Linked DNA regions of Homo sapiens: region 1 is linked to region 2. Evidence: promoter capture Hi-C in 16 types of primary human blood cells and fetal thymus (Javierre and others, 2016). All regions are on one chromosome and are shown on one strand. The core of a region is centred on a gene start or on the middle of the fragment in contact, and the rest is flanking DNA. Distances in the headings are between cores, read along the strand shown.

Region 1 (6,555 bases), core at 1,761-4,260, 590 kb after region 2:
CTAGCCATATGTAGAAAGCTGAAACTGGATCCCTTCCTTACACCTTAAACAAAAATTAATTCAAGATGGATTAAAGACTTAAACGTTAGACCTAAAACCATAAAAACCCTAGAAGAAAACCTAGGCATTACCATTCAGGACATAGGCATGGGCAAGGACTTCATGTCTAAAACACCAAAAGCAATGGCAACAAAAGCCAAAATTGACAAATGGATCTAATTAAACTAAAGAGCTTCTGCACAGCAAAAGAAACTACCGTCAGAGTGAACAGGCAACCTACAAAATGGGAGAAAATTTTTGCAACCTACTCATCTGACAAAGGGCTAATATCCAGAATCTACAATGAACTCCAACAAATTTACAAGAAAAAAACAAACAACCCCATCAAAAAGTGGGCAAAGGACATGAACAGACACTTCTCAAAAGAAGACATTTATGCAGCCAAAAAACACATGAAAAAATGCTCACCATCACTGGCCATCAGAGAAATGCAAATCAAAACCACAATGAGATACCATCTTATACCAGTTAGAATGGCAATCATTAAAAAGTCAGGAAACAACAGGTGCTGGAGAGGATGTGGAGAAATAGGAACACTTTTACACTGTTGGTGGGACTGTAAACTAGTTCAACCATTGTGGAAGTCAGTGTGGCAATTCCTCAGAGATCTAGAACTAGAAATACCATTTGACCCAACCATCCCATTACTGGGTATATACCCAAAGGACTATAAATCATGCTGCTATAAAGACACATGCACACGTATGTTTATTGTGGCACTATTCACAATAGCAAAGACTTGTAACCAAGCCAAATGTCCAACGTTGATAGACTGGATTAAGAAAATGTGGCACATATACACCATGGAGTACTATGCAGCCATAAAAAATGATGAGTTCATGTCCTTTGTAGGGACATGGATGAAATTGGAAATCATCATTCTCAGTAAACTATCGCAAGAACAAAAAACCAAACACTGCATATTCTCACTCATAGGTGGGAATTGAACAATGAGAACACATGGACACAGGAAGGGGAACATCACACTCTGGGGACTGTTGTGGGGTGGGGGAAGGGGGGAGGGATAGCTTTAGGAGATATACCTAATGCTAAATGATGAGTTAATGGGTGCAGCACACCAGCATGGCACATGTATACATATGTAACTAACCTGCACATTGTGCACATGTACCCTAAAACTTAAAGTATAATAATAATTTTTTAAAAAAGAAAATGACATAAGAAAAAAAAAAAAGAAAAAACAGATAAAGTGCACTTTGTCTGTATTTACAGCCCATAATCAAGAAATCATTGCCCAATCTCATGTCATGATGATATCTGCCTGTCATTATCATTTCTCCTATCATTATCATTGAAGGTCTTACGTTTACTCATTGATACATTTTGAGTTCACTATTGTATATGTTATAAGCTAAGGGACCAGTATGTGTAAGTCCAGTTTTCCCAGCATCACGTGTTGAGAAGTCTGTCCTTTTCCAATGCGATGGTCGTAGCCCATTGTGGACTCTCAGGTGACCCTCTGTGAGTGTTTCTAGGCTCTCTATTCTACTCCTTTGATTTCTATGCCTCTCCTTAAGCCAGCACCACACTGTCATGATATTATAGCTTTTTAAAGAGGTCAAACATTGGCCACAATAAAATATGCACTTCCAAAGCCATTTTTAGGTATTATATATCATGGATTAGGCTCTTTTTTTTTATTCTCAGGACCTACATGGACACTATTTCTCATCCTTGTGATACAGGAGTTATTAAGAAATAATTTTTAGGTAGATAGTAAGGGTAAAAGTTCTTGGTGGAAATTTTCCTGTAATAAGAAACAACCCCCAAACCATCTCTTTTCTAACAGAAAAGGTGGCTTGAAGGGCCAGGAGAGCAAGCTTTGATATGCAAATACTGGGTCATTAGAAACGAGGTTCACTCAATGTGGTGATTCCTGCCATCTTTTCCTTGTCACCAGGTGTACCAAGTGTCATGGCCACTTTCAGATAACACCATGTGTTCGAAACATCATGGCAACCCGCATTTGCATATTAAAGGGCTAAGATGGGAGGGCCAGATTTTTCACAGGCTACAGAAATTACACACCTGGTCAAACCAATCCCCTGGGCCCTATGGAAACCAGAAGCCGCCTCCTCCAGCATCCCAATATAAGCAATCACTTTTCCACCACACATGGTTTTTATGTGTGTGTGTGTGATAGGTTTTTATTTATTATTATACTTTAAGTTCTAGGGTACATGTGCACAACGTGCAGGTTTGTTACATATGTATACATGTGCCATGTTGGTGTGCTGCACCCATTAACTCGTCATTTACATTAGGTATTTCTCTTAATGCTTTCCCTCCCCCCATCATTCTGAGCAAACTATCGCAGGGACAGAAAACCAAACACCGCATGTTCTCACTCGTAGGTGGGAATTGAACAATGAGAACACTTGGACACAGGGTGGGGAGCATGGGGGGTTTTTTGTTCGAATCCCCCTCTCTCTGTCTCTGTACGGGGGAGCTGTTTTCTTCCTTCCTTCTTTCTTGCCTATGAAACTTTTCACCCCTTAAAACCACTCCACATGTGTCCATGTTGTTAATCTTATCAGCACGAGACCAAGGACCCTGGTTCCCTCCAGTCATCGGAGCCATATCTTTTAGGTGCATTGGCCAGGAATGGGAATTCATTCATCAGACTGGTGAGTATGGAGCAAATCTCAACTTTAAATCTGTCTTTTAATCTCTAGGCTCTCTTCCAGCTATCCTGCCACCAAACTTTCTTTCTCTCTCTACCCGCGGTCTCTTACTGTCTCTCTCACTGTGTCTAATGTGCAGGAATCTTTACAGTTCAGGGAAACAGGTCTGTTAGAGAAGATCATGAATCAAGGCAGGCAGTAACTCAATAAACGTCTGTCTCTCTAAGGTTTCGCTGGTGAGCACATGGTATTTCTAAGCCAAAACCGCCACCTGGTGGAAATAAAAATCCTCTTCATGAGACACTTGGTTCTCTGTGGTACGTTGCAGCTTCACAATTTCTCCATTTTGCACTTTTTTACTGCTACTTCTGTGGACGGGAAACTCTGGTTTCAACCATTAGGAGTAAGATGTCTTCCACAGCCAGATTTTAGTCCCAATATTGTCCCATCAGTAGGAAAACTGCCATTCGGTTCCTACACTCTTTTAAGGCACCTATTCTGTCTCCAATTAAGACAGTACTTAATTGGTAAGGGGATATTAAGTTTAGAAGTTAACCAGAACAGTTTTTTTTAAAGGGTAAATGCATTAGCACGGGTCATAATAGCAGGCAATCTAGCACATTGCCTCCATTAAAGGAGCCTTGCCCAGAGGTGACACAGTCTCCCCGGAGATCCGTTTTCAGGGAGCCAGGCAAACTGCACATGTTTAGGAAATCAAAGGTAAATCACACAAGGCAGATAAGCTAAGACTGCATGGGTAAGCACGGGTAGCCCCATCACTTAGTTCATCCAGCTCTATGGCTTGGAGGACCACACCTACAGCCATGGGTGGCACATTTAACATGGTGCCGGGATCCAGAAACCAGGGAGGGGAAGTAATCAGAGGATGCTCCCTGTCTGCTCCTCCACTCTGGGTCATACCAAAAGGAAGGAGACTAAGAAGATGCTTTGTATTCTTTCTTCTTTTTCTAAATGGATAATAAATTATCTTTAGGTTGCACCCCTCTGGAGTGCACTCTGAAACACTGAAACTTCCTTAATCTCAAAACTGTAAAGAGAAAAGCAATTTATTTTCTTTTGCACAAGGACATGGCATTTTTACTAAATGGGAGGGAAGCGGTTCTCATAAACAACCCTAACTAAAACTTCAATAGCTCAGGAAATGATAGGAAAAGGAAGTACTTTTTAATACTCACTATAAAAGGCCTAGAGGAAACCAGGGCCAAACCTCTCAGTTACTCTAAGCTGTCTATAATGAACCAAAAGCCAGATAATAATTCTGTAGCCTTTATGGAAAGGCCAAGAGAGGCACTAATAGAGTACATCTCCTTATCCCCTAATTCAATGGAGGAACAGCTCATTTTGAAGGAGAAGTTTATTACAAAAGCAGCTCCTGATATTAAAACTAAAAAAGCAAGCTTAGGACAAAATACCACCTTAGAGAACCTCCTGCAAGTGGCGACTTTGGTCTTTTATAATAGGGACAAGGAGGAGTCCCAACAAAAGCGGGGGAATCTCAAGAGAAGGACAGAGGCTCCAGCAGCAGCTTTGCAAGCTTGTAAAGTCCAGAATCCCCAAGGTACATCCACTAGTTGCTATTGGCATGGCAGCCCAGAGCATTTTTAAAAGGAATGCCCAGGCAGCAAGATGAAGCAAACTCAACCCTATCCAGGCTGTGGCAAAAACCACTGGAAACAGAACTACCCCCAGAGGCAGAGGTCACTGGGTTCAAAATCAGCCTCACAGATGGTCCAGCAGGAATGATGGGTCCAAGGGCTCCAACATTGGCTCCAGTGACTCAAACTGCCATAGAGCACAGGAGTCCTAGAGGATTCTGGAAATTTACAAAAGGAAAGTAAACCTCCTTCTAAGCACTAGAGCCAGTCTCTCTCTTTTCTCCTCTCTAATCCAGGCCTCCGCTCTTCTCATAGCACAACTGTAAAGGGCATCTCGGGAAAAACTCTAATCCAATATTTTTTTCAACCTTAGCTGTAGTTAGAAAGACCTATTTACACGTGCTTCCAAGTCATTGTCATAATAGCTCTACTAGTCAAAAAAGCCTCCAAGTTAACCCTAGGAAATAATTCAACTGTTTACAGCCCACATAATGTGGCAGGATCACTGACCTCTAAGGGGAGCTCTTAGCTAGTAAACAGCCAGTAAAGCAAGAAGTACATAAGGCAGGATGAGCAGTAGTCACTGCCCCAAACACAAGCACTCAATTAGCTGAGCTAATAGCTCTTACAAGAGCACTTAAATTAAGCCAGAGAAAGATAGCTAACATTTCTACTAACTCCAAGTATGCTTTCCTAATTGTCCATGCTCATGCTGCTATTTAAAAGGAAAGGCATTTTCTTACCACTAATGAATCTCCCATAAAATATCACCAGGAAATTAATAGGTTATTATCCTCAGTTTTTCTTCCACAAGAAATAGCAGGATGCATTGTAGGGAACATCAAAAGAAAATAAATAAGGTAAGCAAAGGAAATAAATTAACTGGTCAGCCAGCTAAGACAGAGGCAAGGAAGTCTCAGGGCATTAACACAACTAGTGAAAGCCCAAGTCCAGGAACTAAAACCATCTTTATTTAATCCAGGAAATTTAGTATTAGTGAAAAATCTCATCTCTCTCCTTCCCTAAGCCAAGCTGGGAAGGGCCCTCCACTGTTCTTCTTTCAACCCTCTCAGTAGTAAAATTTACAGGAATCAACTCCTGAATACATCACACTAAAGTCAAAGCTTAAAAAGCTGGGGGAGCAACCCCTAACAGTCCAGAGAAACATCCAGAATGTCCATGTGGAAAAGCAGAAAATGTTAAGCTAAAAATCACAAAAATTAAGTAACTGAGTAAGGTCTACCCATCTTACTCAGTCCCACATTTACCTCAACATATACTTGTTGTCATTTCTGCCCTTTCCTGTCAAAATTTGCCACCAAATATTAAAACTTCTTTTTAATGTATAATTGCAGAAAATTTTAATGATAAATGAAATTGCACTTGGAACTCCGTAAATCCCCAAAGGGAAATGTTATATCTTGACAAGTAAAGTTTTAAACAAATGTTTTTTACTATCCCACTCTTGTGGGAATTGTTATAGTTATGCTACTATTTGTGATAAAACTATACACTGTGGCACCCACAATGTGGAATTCTGGTTGTAAAATTCTAATTCGTGCTCCTATGAGAATCTAATGCTGGGGCTTATCTGACAGGAGGCCACTCACGCAGTAATGCTTACCCACTGCTCACCTCCTGCTTTGTGGCTTCTTTCCTAACAGGCCACGGATTGTTACTGCTCTATGGCTTGAGGGTTGGGGACCCCTGCTCTAGGGTGTATCTCTTTCAGGGTTCCAACTAAAAGCCTAACTCTCTCTCCCACTTGGCAGACAACAACCTATAATTTTTGTATCTTCAGATCCACAAGACTGATAGAAGTTCTACTCTGCCACCACCTAAGAATCAACTTCTAATTTATGATACTATTTTAATTTCCCCAATTGTACAAAAGCATGTCCTTTATAGCTGTTTTAAAATCCATTATCCAATCAGGTTTCATGCACTTTGGTGCTATACTTCTTTGGTCTCTTTTAATCTAGAACATTCTCCCTGCCTTGTTATGACATTTTTTGATGCTTTTTGAATTTTTGTCATATATAAGGCTCCAAAAATGAAAATGAGCTTGGTGGTATGAGGAATTGAAAAGAGGTCAGTATATCAGGCATTTCTTGCACCACGTGTTATCCTCTCAGCCCCACCTCTTCATCCAGCCATTGCTAAGGTGACCAGGTCCAGACAGTTGTTCACTAGCTTCATGCAGGTACACACTGACAGTGCCTCTCCTTAGTATC
Region 2 (6,325 bases), core at 3,732-6,231:
TCTCCGCCTCCCGGGTTCAAGCGATTCTCCTGCCTCAGCCTCCTGAGTAGCTAGGATTACAGGCGCTCACTACCATGCCTGGCAAATTTTTGTATTTTTGGTAGAGATGGGGTTTCACCACGTTGGCCAGGCTGGTCTCGAACTCCTGCCCCCGTGATCTGCCCACCTTGGCCTCCCAAAGTGCTGGGATTACAGGCTGGCCAATGATGCTACTATTTTCATAATGGAGAAATAGTTTTTAAAGAAGTCTCCTTAAGAAAGTAGACTCATTTATTTTTATTTTATTAGCTATGTGCATTACTTTGATAAAATTTAAAACCCTAACTTACACCGTACACAAAAATCAGTTCCAGATAGATTGCCAACCTAAGGGTAACTCACATGAGAAAGCTATTGGAAAATAACAGAAGAGGCCAGATGCGGTGGCTCACTCCTGTAATGCCAACAGTTTGGGAGGTCAAAGCAGGAGGATCACTTGAGTCCAGGAGTTCAAGACCAGCCTGGGGAATATGGCAAGACCTTGTCCCTACAAAAAAATTAACAAAATTAGCTGGGCGTGGTGCACGCACCTGTAATCCCAGCACTTTGGGAGGTCGAGGCGGGTGGATCACCTGAGGTCAGGGGTTCGAGACCAGCCTGGCCAACATGGTGAAACCCCCGTCTCTGCCTAAAATACAAAAATTAGCCGGGCATGGTGGCAGGCGCCTGTAATCACAGCTACTCGGGAGGCTGAGGCAGAATAGCCTGAACCCGGGAGGCAGAGGTTGCAGTGAGCCGAGATCATGCCATTGCACTCCAGCCTGGGCAACAGAGTGAGACTCTGTCTCAAATAAATAAATAAATAAAAATAGAAATAAACAAAATTAGCCAGGCATGGTGGTGGTGCATGCCTGTGGTCCCAGCTACTGGGAGGCTGAGGTGGGAGGATTGCTTGAGCCAGGGAGGTAGAGGCTGCAGTGAGCTATGATGCCACTGCACTACAGCCTAGGTGACAGAGCAAGACCCTTTATCTAAAAAATAAAATAAAATAAAAATAAATAAACCAATAAAAATGGACAACCCAGTAGAAAACCGGACAAGACACTTGAACAAGCACATCACAAAAAGGATATCCAAAAGGCTGATATGCAAATGAAGAGATGTTCAATTTCATTACTCAGCAGGGAAATGCAAATTAAAGCTACAATGAGCTACCTCTACACACCCACCAGAATGACTAAAAATAAAGCACCTGACAATGCTTTATTGGTTCCAAGTGTTGGCAGCGATGTGGAACAATGGAAGTGTTCTAACGTGGCTGGTGGGAGGAGAAGAAATACCACTTTGGAAACCTCTTTGGCTGTATCTACCAAAGATAAAGATACATGCACCTTATGACCCAGCCATCTTATACTTCTAGTTTACATCCAAGAGAAATGTGTATATATGTTTAACAAAATATGTACTAGAATGTTGATCACAGCACTATTTGCAAAAGCCGAAAAAAAAGGAAGTAACTCAAAATTCCATTGACAATTGGTTTTGATAGATAAACCAACTGATAAATAAATTGATAAATAAACCACTGATGGCTGGGCACGGTGGCTCACGCCTGTAATCCCAGCACTTTGGGAGGCTGAGGCAGGCGGATCACCTGAGGTCGGGAGTTCGAAATCAGCCTGGCCAACATGGTGAAACCTTATCTCTACTAAAAAATACAAAATTAGCTAGGTGTGGTGGTGCATGCCTGTGATCCCAGCTACTCAGGAGGCTGAGGCAGGAGAATCGCTTGAACCTGGGAGGCGGAGGTTGCAGTGAGCCAAGATCACCCCATTGCACTCCAGCCTGGGCAACAAGAACGAAACTCCGTCTCAAAAGAACAAAACAAAAACAAAAACAAACAAACAAAAAACCACCAGTGATACATAAATTGGGGTGTATTCACACAGTGGAGGGCTGCTTGGCAATGAGAAAGAAAATGGGTTGCAATTATGCGCCCAACTCAGATACATTTCCCAATCATAAAGTTGAGTGAAAGAGTTAAACCTGTATATTTCTATTTACGCCATGTGCAAAAATAGGCAAAATGAAACCACTGTGTGTAGGGAGGTGTACTTAGGTGGGGAAACCAAAGTCAGGTAAAAGTTAAGTGGATTTCTTCATGGGAAGGAAGAAAGCTGTGCTGGAGAGGAAGCAGGAGGGGGCTTGGGGGAAGGCGATAAGATTATTTTTCTTGCACCCGGTTGGTGGTTACACAGTTGTGTTCACTTTGTCATATTTATTCAGTGGGACATTTATGTCTCATTACTTTTCTGCATGTATATCACATTTCATAATTTAAAAGGTTTAAATTGACTGGGCACAGCAGCTCACACCTGTAATCCCGGCACTTTGGGAGGCCGAGGTGGGCAGATCACTTGAGTCTAGGAGTTCGAGACCAGCCTGGCCAACACAGTGAAACCCCGTCTCTACTAAAAATACAAGGCCGGGCGCGGTGGCTCACGCCTGCAGTCCCAGCACTTTGGGAGGCCGAGGCGGGCGGATCACGCCGTCAGAAGATCAAGACCATCCTGGCTAACAAGGTGAAACCCTGTCTCTACTAAAAATACAAAAAATTAGCTGGGTGTGGCGGCACGTGCCTGTAGTCCCAGCTACTTGGGAGGCTGAGGCAGGAGAATGGCTAGAACCCGGGAGGTGGAGTTTGCGGTGAGCCGAGATCACACCACTGCACTCCAGCCTGGGGGACAGAGTAAAGTGACTTAGAAAACTAGGCTTATTAAAACTCTGCCTTACAAACTGGGCAGACTAGATGTCTTGGTAATAATTAGAAGATTATTATCAATAATCTTCTAATTATTATAATGATAATTAGAAGATTATACGGGGGCACTTGCTCTGTGCTAGGCACTGTTCTAAGGGGTTTATTATTTAATCCTTGCAACAACCCTATAAGGTGCTACTATTGTTCCCATTTCACAGATGGGGAAACCGAGGCACCGTGCGGTTAAATCACTTGTCTAAGTTAGTCAGTGCTGAAGATAGATTTATAACCAGGCCATCTAGCCCCAGAGTCGATGCTCCATTCCCCACCGCAAGCTTATACCTGAGCTATAAGCCCTCATCCGCCAGTCAGGGTCCAACCAGAGGCAACTCCAGTGGGCTCTTTTCACCTGGGCTGGTGGTTGGGAATTCAGGAGCTACGTGAACTTGGATAGGGGAAACTTTTTTTACCTCTCCTTTTACTACACTTTAATCTAGCAGTTCTCAAAATGTGGTCTGGGGGCACCTGTGGGTCCGCAAGACCTTTCTCAGGGGCTAGTGAGGTCAAAAGTATTTTCATAATGATATTAAGACGTTTGTCCTTTTCATTCTCCAGAGACTACCTGACCTGTGATAATGTCATCACTCTGATGGCTAATAGAAATATATGCATGTATATTCGTGTGTTTTTAAAACTTCTCGTTTTCAGCCAGGTTCATGCCTGTAGTCCCAGCTACTCGGGAGGCTGAGGCTCGAAAATCGCATGAACCCAGGAGGCAGAGGTTGTAATGAGCCAAGATCGTGTTACTGTGCTCCAGCCTGGGCAACAGAGTGAAACTCTGTCTCAAAACAAAAACAAAACACACACACACACAAAACCAAAAAACAAACACAAAAACAAAACAACAACAACAAAAAAACCCCCCAACACCTTGTATCACAATAGCACTGGTTTCCTTTGTATTTCTGTGTATTTATATTATGCATGTAACGACATGATCCTGAGAAGGGCTTGACCAGCTTGCCATAGGCATCTTTAGCACAAAAAAGCTTAGGAACCTCCCATTCTGGACGAACTAAGAATACGGGGAGGTTATAATTGGGGGCCACAGGAGTGGCAGGTACTCAAGTTTGGTTATGAGAGCTACTTTCATTATATTTTAGGCTGTAATGGAGACTCTGGAAGTGGGAAGAAAAAAAAAAAAACTCAAACAGTGCAAAGGGCTCGTTTTGATTTTCCCACACTCCTAGTGCCAATTTCTGAAATTGGTGTCCACAATCAGTAGAAGCCTATGTGCTCTGAATTTACAAAGCCAAGTGGTGGCGGGTCATTGTATCTGCAGTCAGGAAGGGGAAACGACTGGAAATCCGGGCCCCCCCAGTTCTTCCCTGCTTCTCTTTTTGTGGCAGCCGCTCCTCACGTTCAAACAGATTGCAAAGGTTTACAGGGGAGAACCCTAACTTGTTCCCTAGACGTCAGTTTCTGGAGTTCCTGCATTAATACGATTAAAAAGAACAGCTGATTCTTATCCAGCCCTTACTCTGGGCCGGGCCCTGTTATCGGCATGAAATTTCATGCAGCAACTCGTTTACTCCTCACAACAGCCCACGGGGTATATACGAGCATCACCTCCTTTTTACAGGTGAAAAAACCCAAGGTCCAGCGAGGTTGAATAACTCACCTAGGTCGCACAGCTCAGAAAGCCCACTGCAATTCCGGGATTCTGGTTTTGTTTTGAGGTTGCCCCGGGCTTCTGAGGAGGGGTCAGTGGGCTCAGCATGGAAAGGAAGGAAGCCGGAAGGCTGGAGGAAGATGCAGCGAGGCTGGAAAGGTTGGGGATCCCCCGGTCCTGCACACCTGGGTACCTGGGGATCGGGCAGGGCCAGGATAGGGGCCGGTGTCCGTGCCCTGGGGCTCCCCAGCTGATGAGTGGGCGCCTGAGGGACGAGCGCAGGGTTACCTGCCTGGGCTCTCACCTGGTGGCCGGCTCAGAGGTGGCGCGCCGGAGACGTATCATAACCTTCCTGGGTCCCCCTTCCCGCGCCACGCCCTGGTGGGGTGGGCGGGTGGGTGTGGGGCGCCCAGGCAGGACCGGCCGGACCTGTGGGACCCGGGGCCCTGGCTGTCTAGGGAGGCTGTCACCCCGAGGCGACCGGCTCTTCCGGGGCTGGGACGGCTGTAGGCGGCAAGAGGCCTCGGCACCCGCGAACTCATAAATACCGGGGCGGCGCTGGTGGCGGGAGAGGCGCGTGCGGGCAGCCGGCGCCCCCGAGGGTGAGCCGGGGTCCGGGAGGGCGTCCCCTTTCCCGGATGGTCCCGACCCGGCTCCATCCTGGCAGCTGGAGACGGAGCTGGAGCAGGCGGGAAAGCGCTGGAGAGAAGGGGGGTGGGTACAGATGGGGGAAGGGCAGGGACGCTGGGGATGGGGAGAGAGGATGCGGCCGCTCTGGCCATGATGGGCTCTAAAGGATCTGGGGGTGGTGTGGGAGGATTGGGGTCACTAGGAGCAAAATAGAAGGCTAAGGATGGAGTAGGGAGGCGAGGTCCCGGGGGCAGGCGGGAATGCTTGGAATCTCGGGAGTAGGTAGGAGAACTGGGGTTTCTAACAGCAGGATGGAAAGCTGGGGATGGGGCTGCGGAATGCAACCTCCTACACAGCCTCCACCCCGCTCCCAGACCCCCAGCACTGAGAGTGAGCTCTGGTTAGGAGCAAGGCTCTGGAATCAGGCCCTCCTGGGTTCAAATCCTGGCTCCATCCCATCCTAGCTGTGCAGCTGAATCACTCAGCTGCTCGGTTTCCTCATCTGTGATATGGGGATGACAATGCTCACAGCCACCACTTCATAGCAATGTCGTGAGGCTTCCGTGAATTAATCTATGTCAAGCGGTTGGCACACTGTGAGTGAGGCTCAGAGAGCTCTGCTGCTGTTCCTTAGCGATTCTTATTTTTGGTTTCTCTCTCCAGCACCTGGATAACCACCCATCTTGAAGGAGACCTCCCTGCCCTGCCTCTGTTGTCCCCCAGAGCACTGCCTGATCATCCTCTGTTCCCCATCCTCCCAGCCCTTCCTGCTGTACCTGTGGGGAGCTGATCTCCTCAGTCCCCCTGCTTTTCCCCGGTCTGCCATCACCACCCCACCACCATGCACCCCCTTCCTGGCTACTGGTCCTGTTACTGTCTACTCCTGCTATTCTCCTTGGGAGTCCAGGGGTCCCTGGGGGCTCCCAGCGCTGCCCCAGAGCAAGTCCATCTGTCTTACCCAGGTAAGTGTCCCTGACTCATTTCTATGCCTCTACCAGAGAGGCCCAGCGGTGCTTCGTTGTTTGAGGGCTCAGGAATCCCACACTGTGAGCCCCTAGGCGGGTGGCTCATTCCTCCTGAGCCTCCATCATCCACCTCTGTGGAATAGGAAGTACAGGCTGTGGAACACCTGGAAGTGTGGGGAATGATCATGGTGCTCAGCCCACAGAGAGTGCTCCCCTGCTCTCAAAAGGGGACCGCTGCTGTCCTTGTTCATTGCATCTCTGTTGTGTTTCCGGGACCTGGCACGTTTGTTCGTTCATGCACGGTAGGCCTCAGAGCCA

Evidence for each region. Contacts are between HindIII fragments. The CHiCAGO score rates a contact against its expected background, and 5 or more counts as called.
Region 1: a fragment that was not itself captured here is called in contact with the fragment with the promoter of ACP7 in region 2 in 1 of 17 cell types (total B cells); the score reaches 8.7 in total B cells.

The regions. Positions count from the first base shown.
Region 1 is chr19:39,669,200-39,675,754 of GRCh38, forward strand. No RefSeq gene overlaps it. Among named protein-coding and RNA genes, the nearest start is that of LGALS16, 17 kb to the left of the region's middle. The HindIII fragment of the contact is 2,222 bases long and covers 1,900-4,121 here.
Region 2 is chr19:39,079,387-39,085,711 of GRCh38, forward strand. ACP7 (acid phosphatase 7, tartrate resistant (putative)) reads left to right here and starts at 4,982. Exons shown (of 13, transcript NM_001004318.3): 1 at 4,982-5,014; 2 at 5,706-6,004. The coding sequence starts at 5,884. RefSeq lists an enhancer at 4,835-5,335. The HindIII fragment of the contact is 23,028 bases long and covers 3,788-6,325 here.